2 separate regions of the Homo sapiens genome follow, and region 1 is linked to region 2. Evidence: promoter capture Hi-C in human tissues and cell types (Jung and others, 2019). All regions are on one chromosome and are shown on one strand. Each heading gives the region's core, a stretch centred on a gene start or on the middle of the fragment in contact. The rest is flanking DNA. Distances are from core to core; before and after follow the strand shown.

Evidence for each region. The method cuts DNA at HindIII sites, captures the fragments that hold promoters and counts their contacts. A contact is called where the count stands out against the background at its distance.
Region 1: a contact is called between a fragment that was not itself captured here and the fragment with the promoter of AIP in region 2, in 2 of the 25 tissues and cell types used here (lymphoblastoid cells and spleen).

Annotation. Positions count from the first base shown.
Region 1 is chr11:67,691,907-67,696,484 of GRCh38, reverse strand. No RefSeq gene overlaps it. Among named protein-coding and RNA genes, the nearest start is that of ALDH3B2, 20 kb to the right of the region's middle. The HindIII fragment of the contact is 4,464 bases long and covers 570-4,578 here.
Region 2 is chr11:67,480,124-67,484,991 of GRCh38, reverse strand. AIP (AHR interacting HSP90 co-chaperone) reads right to left here and starts at 1,966. Exons shown (of 6, transcript NM_003977.4): 1 at 1,735-1,966. The coding sequence starts at 1,833. RefSeq lists an enhancer at 2,065-2,124. The HindIII fragment of the contact is 17,225 bases long and covers 1-2,464 here.

The DNA of each region.
Region 1 (4,578 bases), core at 1,552-4,051, 210 kb before region 2:
TGACCTGGAGAAGCCGTGGAATCATAACTGAGAACTGTTTTAAGCCTCTCAGTTTTGGGGTAATTTGTTATACTGCAGCAGATAACTTGTCTGGATTTTTGTATTGCAGGTGGGTTGCTGCCATAACAAATAGCTAAAAACAAGAGGGCAGTATTCAAACCGGGCTTCCAAAAGGAAGGGCCAGGCACAGTGGCTCATGCCTGCAATCCCAGACTTTAGGAGGCCACAGCGGGCAGATCAAGACCAGCCTGGGCAACTTAGTGAGACCTTGACTGTAGAAAGCAAAGGTTCCTCTTCAAAGCTTCCCCTTTAAATCATAAATGTTATTGATATCTTTTCTCAGAACTAACTTTCTTCAAGTTTCTTATTTTATAGTAATACCTCTCTGTTATGCCTTATGTAGCAAATGTAACAGAATAAGCATACTCTGACTTCAATATCTATGTTAAACATGCTCACAGGCACGTAGTACATTCTACGTCCTTGTACCTTAGTCAAAATATTCGTGCTGGACGTGTCCAGGCATTTCCCAGATTGCAGCGTACACTCCTCCCTTATTTGGGAATATTATTACTTTTCTAAGTCCTTTCCTAAGCAACTTCCTTTTTTTCCTTCGTTCCTCCCTGCCTTTACCTATTTAAAAAAGTTTAAACTGTTAGCCAATCGGGTTTTAGTTTAGGTGGTAAGGTCTGGCTCCAGCCAGTGACATGGCAATAGGGACCTCATGCGTAAGGGATAAATATTCTAGTGCCTTTTTTATTTTGTATGCGATCGTGGCAGGATTGCGGACGGGCAGCACTCTTTCTGCAGAAGGTAAAAATCACCTTGCTGAGGAAGCTTTTCGTCTGCTGATTCTTCTTTGTGACATCGGGGAATAAGGATTTATTTCTAACAGTCTTGGGGGCTCGTCTGGGATCACCCAGTCTCCTTCGGGTCGGGGTCTCTGATTCCCGCCCCCCCACCAAGGGGAGGCGCCCCACTGCCTTACTGCGGTGGCCTCAGGGACTGGGAATCCGGACTTACCTGTTGTGATGAATAAACCCGGACCCTCAGCAACGTGGAAAACGGCGAATAGGCTTGCATTGCACTGCCTCGGGGACCAGATAAACTCTGTTCACAGAGCAAAGTAAAGAAACGTCGCAAGGGTGCGACAAAGTACTTGCTTGGTGGTCGGGATATTCTGGAGGTTAAAAGTGTGTGTGAATAGTCACAAGCCTCACTGCAGCTGGTGTTGCTTGTGTAAATCATGATAAGTCCTACTGCTGGACCGAGCGAGTGAGTCTTGCCTGCGGTTCCGTGGCTACCTCATACGGCTTAAGGCGGATCTTGCCTTGGGGTTTATACCGGCACGCCAATGCTAAGAGGGGCCTAAATTCCCGTGAGGAAAGTGGCCAGGTAGGACAAAGCGAGTGAAGAGTGTAAAAAGCCTCCAGAAAGAAAAAGAGGAGTTAAATCCTCCTCAGGGAAAACGAAACCTCAAGCACGTTAAGGTTAAAAATATAAGCAAGCCAGGAAAAAACAGGATAGACAAGAAATCTCTAGGATTAAGAGGTTAAGTCTACCTGATATTCAATATGGGAAAGGTTTCTAGTAAATCGGGGGCAAAAAAAGATGCAAGTTATCAAATCCCTCCCGATAGTCCTTTAAGGCTCATGTTAAAGTATTGGAAAGATAATAAAAAAACTAAATTTAAAAAAAGCAGCAGATAATTAAGTATTGTTGCTTTATTTGGACTAAAAAGCCAATTCTCAAGCCAGCGGTTTTTTGGTCAAAATTTAGGTCAGATAAAGATTAAATCTGTCAACTTTTAATAATATATGTTTATAGCAAAAGTCCTGTGTCACAAGAAAAATTGATTATGCTTTATGCTAGCGGCAAGGGCCTATATTATTCTTTATCCTTTAAAAACGATCAAAGGGGGACTAGAAAATAAAAAACAGTCAAAAATGGCCTTATCTAATAAGAGATAGGACCCTCTAGACCACCTTCCCCCGTTTCTTAATAACCTGCTGACACCTCCCCAGGTAGCTGCTGCTGTCCTAGATCCCCTTCTGGACCTGATCCCTGACCCAGCTGCCACTCCAGGCCCCCCTGCCACTCCAGGCCCCCCTGCCACTCCAGGCCTCCCCCATATAACCCAGATTCTTGTGAATCCCAGGAGCCTAAAAATTCTAAATATCCTTCTTTAAAGAAAAGACTCCAACAAAAATTAAAACAATGTAAGAAGGATATTCAGAATTTCCCTTTTCCTGCCCCCCAAAAAAGTTAACTTCAACATTCTTTCCTTTAAGGAAAGTTCCCCAAGGAGGAGAAGCTATTGGTTTTGTGGATGCTCCCCTTACTGGGTCTGAAGTTTGGAGTATAAAAAGAGAACTAAAGCCACTGTTAAATAATCCTAACAGGGTGGCAGATCAAATTGATCAGTTTTTAGGCCCACAGTTATATACTTGGGCTGAATCAGTGTGCATCCTAGGTATTATTTTTTCAAGGAAAAAAAGAAATACGATCTGGGAACGTAAACATCCTCCAGGTCAAAATGTTCTGGCAGCAAATCATAAATTCCCTGCTCAGGACCCGCAGTGGGATAAAATAATGCTGCCCACCGAAATAATATAAGGAATTTTTTAAAAAATAATAATCAGGGGGATTCAAAAGTCAGCACCCAGACCCCAAAACCTTTCCAAAGCATTTAATGTCCAACAAAAGAAAGATGAAGGACCTATGAGGTTCATAGATAAATTAAAAGAACAAATAAAAAAAATGCTAACTTAGACCCAGAAAGCCCTCTTGGGCAAGGAATGTTAAAACTGCACTTTGTTACTCACAGTTGGCCAGACATTACTAAAAAGTTACAAAAATTAGAAAATTTAAAAAATCAATAAAAAAGTTATTTAAAAAGGCTCAAAAACTATATGTAAAAAAATAAGGAAAGACAAAGGCAAAAAGCAAAAATCTTTTGGCAAAATTCACTAGTCTCTGGCAGACGATGCCAGAGACCAGATCTAGACCTGGGCCTATAAAATTCTCTAGGGGAGGCAAAAGGAAAAAGTTTAGGAATTCAAAAATGCAAAACAAAAAAAGAAGGCAAGGTCAGTATTTATTTTTTTAAACTAATTTATTAATTTATTAATTTATTTATTTATTTTGAGATGGAGTCTCACTCTGTCACCCAGGCTGGAGTGCAGTGGTGCGATCTCGGCTAGCTCCGCCTCCCAGGTTCACGCCATTCTCCTGCCTCAGCCTCCTGAGTAGCTGGGACCACAGGCCCACGCCACCACACCCAGCTAATTTTTTGTATTTTTAGTAGAGACGGGGTTTCACGTGTTAGCCAGGACGGTCTGGATCTCCTGACCTCGTGATCTGCCCGCCTCGGCCTCCCAAAGTGCTGGGATTACAGGTGTGAGCCATCGCGCCCGGCCAGGTCAGTATTTTAGAAAAAAATGTCAAAGTAAGTGTCATAGGAGCTGTGGATGTGAAAATAAAGAGGAGAAGCAAAGAAGCTTTGGGCTTGGTAGGGAGGAAGGAAAAGACAGATGTTACAGATGCGGGAGACCAGGTCGTTTTAAAAGGGAATGTCCCAAGTTAGAAAAGGCAGAAAAAGCTCCCCCACTTGTGACCACTTTTAAAGAAGAATAGGGGGGTCAGGGGCTCTGACTTTTCTATTTTGAGTCCCACCAAGAGCCCTTGATAAATTTAGAGGTGGGACCCAGACATAAATTAATCACCTTTTTAGTCGACTCAGGAGAAGCCCATTCACCTGTCTGTTTTCCTTCAGCTCATTTAGTTTGTTCCCCAAAGGAATTAACAGTTTCTGGGGTTAAAGGGGAAGGATTCAAGGCAAAAGTTTTAGAAAATACAGAAGTTAAATATATAAATTGATTAGTTTATATACAATTTTTATTAATTCCTAAAGCAAAAGCCAATTTGTTAGAAAGAGATTTAACGTTAAAGTTAGGTATAGGTTTACAAGTTAGTCCAAAAGGTTTCCTAACCTCTTTAAATTTGTTAGCTATAGCAGATAAAAAATACATTCATCCAGCTGTCTGGTCAAGGGAAGGTAATCAGGGAAATTTACAGATTCCTCCAACACATGTTCAGTTAAAGACTCCAGGGGAAATAGTAAAAAGAAAGCAATACCCTATTCCTTTAGAAGGAAGAATAGGGTTAAAGCCTGTAATCAAAAGACTTATTAAAGATGGGCTATTGAACCTTCTATGTCTCCATACAATACTCCAATGTTACCAGTCAAAAAAATCAGATGAATCATACCAATTAGTGCAAAATCTTAGAGCTATCAATCAAATAGTTCAAACCACTCATCCTGTTGGGCCTAACCCCTACACTATTCTTAGTAAAATTCCATATAGTCATCAGTGGTTCACAGTAATAGACTTAAAAGATACATTTTAGGCATGTCCTTTGGCTAAAGACAGCCAAAATATATTTGCCTTTGAGTGGGAGGACCCCTATTTAGGCAAAAGCAACAATACAGGTGGACAGTTTTTACCCCAAGGATTTACAGATTTTCCCAATCTTTTTTGTCAAGTATTTAAAAAAAATTATTGTCCCAAAACAGTT
Region 2 (4,868 bases), core at 717-3,216:
TGGAAGCCACTGAGTGGCTCCGAGCAAAAAAGGAATTGAATCTGGCATGGGCTCGGCTGCTGGGACGAGAACAGACCACAGAGGGACAAAAGAGGCAGGAGAGTTAGAGGTCGCTGCAGTAACCCAGGCTGGAGATGAGGATGGCCTGGACCCAAGCAGTGATGGCAGAAGTGGTGAGAACTCAGATCCTGGCTGGATATTGAGGATGTGATGTTGGATGTGAGACTGGGAGGACCACAGAGATGCTAAGGTTTTTGCCCTGAACAACGGGAAGGTTGTTGGTTCCCCTGACACGGAGAAGCCTCAGGTGGAGCAGGTTAAGTGTGAGTTGCCAACCAGGCTTCCAGGTGGATATGGTGAGTAGGGAGCTATATATCAGGTTTAAGAGACAGTTAATGACTGGAGAGCTGCATCTGGGAGTAATCCGGGCAGGGAGAGTTTTTAGAGATAACACTGGGGGTGGGTGCAGAGAAAAGAGGTTTGGAGATTGAACTCTCGACAGGATATGGTTAGAGGAGCCCACGCTCTTAACTGCCGCACCATGCTGCATCTCTGAAGTCAGTTTCCACATCGGTAAAACGGAATCAACAACAGTACCTATCTCACATTGTAGGAAATAAACGTGTGAAGCATGTAGCACAATGTTCGAATAGTGAGCACTCAATCAGTGCTGGCGATTGGTTATTTAACACCACCTGTTTCTGATCTTGGGGTGCCATTGTTCACATCTCTCCTTCTGATGTCTGTTCCATCCAGGATCCCCCTTGCCAGCCCCTTCTTCCAACGCCACCAACCCCCCAGCACATGGGGGCATGAACCCACACCACACATCCTGTCTCTTCTTAGAGAAGATATCTTTTCATACAGCGGATCACTCCAGCCATGCAGCTCCCCTCTGCTCTCAGGGCACTTATACTGCACTGGGCTAGGATGCTTAGCTGCCCGATTCGGCACGGTGCTGGCCAGGGGGCATGTGCTCATTTGCTCAATGTGCATGTCCTGCCTGACTGCTCTGCTGGGCACAGGGGCTGCCCCTGGGAGGTTCCCTACTCTGCAAACAAGTGGCAGCTGGGAAAAGCACTCCGGGAGGAGGCAACTACAGGAGAAGCAGGGAAGCCTGGAGTTGTAGGTTGGGGGAGAAGCGGGCAGAGGGGCTGGATCTGGGGGCCTGGCAAAAAGGAGAAAAGTGGGAGGTTCTTTACTTCCCAACCCTCATCTGTCCCAACAAGCCCCTAGTGCAGCAGGAAGGCTGCTAAAGAGTCCCTGTCTGGGAGACCTGACCTCTGGGCCCGTTCTCCGGCTTTGCACGTCCCAGGGTCTTGGTTTTCCACTCTAAACAGCGGCAGTTGGTCTAAGTGTTTTCAGAAGGCCCTTCCATCTACAAAGGATCATGAGCCTTGAAACCCAGATACCCGAGGACCACTCCCGGCCCTGGGTTTCCTCCAGCGTGGGGTCTGCCCAAGCACTGAGATCAACCCCCAACCCCAACCCGCTTGTGATGACTGACGGCCTCCCCCACCAATGCTGCTACAAGGCCGAGCCAGGGGGCGGGGCAGACAGGCCCGAATTCACCCCCTACTTAAATTCAGCCCAATCAGCGTCGAGTTCTGCATGTGAGCGGTAGGGGCAGTGGACGCTGCCCTCTGGGCATGCGCAACCTCTCGCCTAAGGCCTCCTCCCGCCTCGCATGCGCACCACGCCGCAGAGGGGGAGAAGGGTAGGGTAGACACGAACCTTGGTCCCATCTTGAAAGTCCGGGAGCTCTCCTCGGCCTTCCTGTATCACACGTTTTTGGATCCCGTCCTCCCGGAGTCTTGCGATGATATCCGCCATCCTCCTTCCCCGCTGCTCCCTTTCGGCAACTTCCGGACTCGCTCGGTAGCTTCCGGACTTGCTTCGGCAACTCCTAGCACCTCGGCAGCTTCCGAGCTAGCGCCATTTTGGTTGAGGGCAGAAGCCAAAAGGGACTGAGCGTGGAAACGGATGGTGATTGGTTCTCTGCGCTGGGGCTGAGCGCGCGCGTCTGCTCGGGGGCGGAGCCTAGGAATGTCTCGGGGCTGGACCCCAGCCTGTCAAGGAGGAAGGGCCGGGGTCCGCGGGCCGGGCGGGACGAGGACGTCCCTAACAATTGTCATTGAATTGATTGGGACTGCGGCCGTGTGGCACTTTGTTTGAAGTTGTGGATGGAATATAACAGCACTGCAGAGTTAGGAAAATGAAAAAAAAAAAAAACACCCGTAAGCCACACCCTCAAAGTGTTATGATTTTTGTGTATTTTCTTCCGGCTTTTTCTCTTTCGCATATCTAGTATGATTGTCGGGACTCTTGCATCCTGGATCTTCCTCTTTCAAAAAATAAAAAGAGGAAGAGGGAAAGAAAGGTGGAGAAGGAGACCAAGAGAGCCCATTGCGGGGTCGGAAATGAGTCATAGTTGTGCCCAATTAATATTAGGGAATAATCGATGAATGATAGAAATGAGGTACTTTAGCGCCGGGCGCGGTGGCCCTGTAACCCCACCACTTTGGGAGGCCGAGGCGAGAGGATCGCTTGAGCCCAGGAGTTCGAGGCTGCAGTGGGCCGTGTTCGTGCCACTGCACTCCAGGCTAGCCGACAGAGCGAGATGCTGTCTCAAAACAAAACAAAAAAAAAAAATTAAATTAAAAGAAAAGAGAAATGAGGTACTTTGGGGCTAAAACAACTTTTGTTTTTCTTTTTTTGAGACGGAGTCTCGCTCTGTCACCCACGCTGGAGTGCAGTGGCACAATTTCAGCTCACTGCAAGCTCTGCCTCCCGGGTTCACGCCATTCTCCTGCCTCAGCCTCCCGAGCAGCTGGGACTACAGGCGCCCGCCACCATGCCCGGCTAATTTTTTGTATTTTTAGTAGAGACAGGGTTTCACCGTGTTAGCCAGGATGGTCTCAATCTCCGGACCTCGTGATCCGCCCACCTCGGCCTCCCAAAGTGCTGGGATTACAGGCGTGAGCCACAGCGCCCAGCTGATATGAAACATTCTAAATAAAATACTAGGCTAATTGAATTCACTAATGTCATGTAAAAATGCATCAGTATGGGGCAGGTGTGGTGGCTTATGCCTCTAATACCAGCACTTTGGGAGGCCAAGGCAAGTGGATCTCCTGGATCTCCTTGAGCTCACAAGTTCAAGACCAGCCTGGACAACATGGCAAAATACCATCTTCACCAAAAATACAAAAAATTAGGTGGTGTGGTGGTGCACGCCTGTGGTCCCAGCTACTCAGCAGGCTGAGGCTGGAGGATTGCTTGAGCCCAGGAGATGGAGGTTGTAGTGAGCCAAGATCGCACCACTGCACTCCAGCCTGGGTGATAGAGTGAGACCCCATCTCAAAAAAAAAAAAAAAGCATCAATATGCTAAGTGAAATAACAGTACCAGTCACATACAGGAAAATACTGTATTATTCTACTTATGTAAGGTACCTAGAGTAGTCAGATTCACAAAGACAGAAAGCAGGGCCGGGCGCGGTGGCTCACACCTGTAATCCCAGCACTTTTGGAGGCCAAGGCAGGCAGATCACCTGAGGTCAGGAGTTTGAGACCAGCCTGGCCAACATGGAGAAACCCCATCTCTACGAAAAATACAAAAATTAGCTGGGTATGGTGGCACGTGCCTGTAATCCCAGCTACTCGGGAGGCTAAGGCAGGAGAATCGCTTGAACCCAGGAGGCAGAAGTTGCATTGAACCAAGATCGCGCCACTGCACTCCAGCCTGGGCGACAGAGCAAGACTCCATCTCAAAAAAAAAAAAAAATGACAGCAGAATGGTGATTGCCAAGGGCTGGGGGCAGGGGGGTGGGAAATGGAGACTTGTTCTTTGATGAGTGTAGAATTTCTGTTTTGAAAGACGAAACTGTTCTGGAAATTGGTTGCATAACAGTGTGCATATACTTAACGCCACTGAGTATACACTTCAAAACGGTTGAGATGGTAAATTTTATGTTATGTTATGTGTATTTTACCACAATTAAGAATAATTTTTTTGCCGGGCGTGGTGGCTCACGCCTGTAATCCCGGCTCTTTGGGAGGCTGAGGCAGGTGGATCACCTCAGGTCAGAAGTTCAAGACCAGCCTGGTCAACATGGTGAAACCCCGTCTCTACTAAATATACAAAAATTGGCCAGGCGTGGTGGCGGGCACCTATAATCCCAGCTACTCAGGAGGCTGAGGCAGGAGAATCGCTTGAACCCGGGAGGCAGAGGTTGCAGTGAGCCGAGATTGCACCATTGCACTCCAGCCTGGGCAACAAGAGCGAAACTTCATTCCAAAAAAAAAAAAGAATAATTTTTTTTTCCGGGCTGGCACGGTGGCTCACGCCTGTAATCCCAGCACTTTGGGAGGCCGAGGCGGGCAGATCACGAGGTCAAGAGATCAAGACCAGCCTGACCAACATGGTGAAACCCCGTCTCTACTAAAAATATAAAAATTAGCCAGGCGTGGTGGCAGGCGCCTGTAATCCCAGCTACTCAGGGAGACTGAGGCAGGAGAATCGCTTGAACCCAGGAGGTGGAGGTTACAGTGAGCCGAGATCACACCACTGCACTCCAGCCTGATGACAGATCGAGACTGTCTCAAAAAAAAAAAAAAGAATTTTTTTTCCAAAGAAAATGCATGAAGATCAAGTAGAGTTTATTCCAAGAATGTAAGAATGGTTCAACATTATAAACATCTATTACTGTAATTCACCACGTCGGTTAACTAAAGGAGAAAATGCATATGGTTATCTCAAAATATGCAGAAAAAGCATTTTATGAACTTCTGTGACTATTTATGATAAAAACTCACAGTTAGGAACAAAGAGGAATTTTCTCAGGTTGATAAAAGCTGCATACAATTA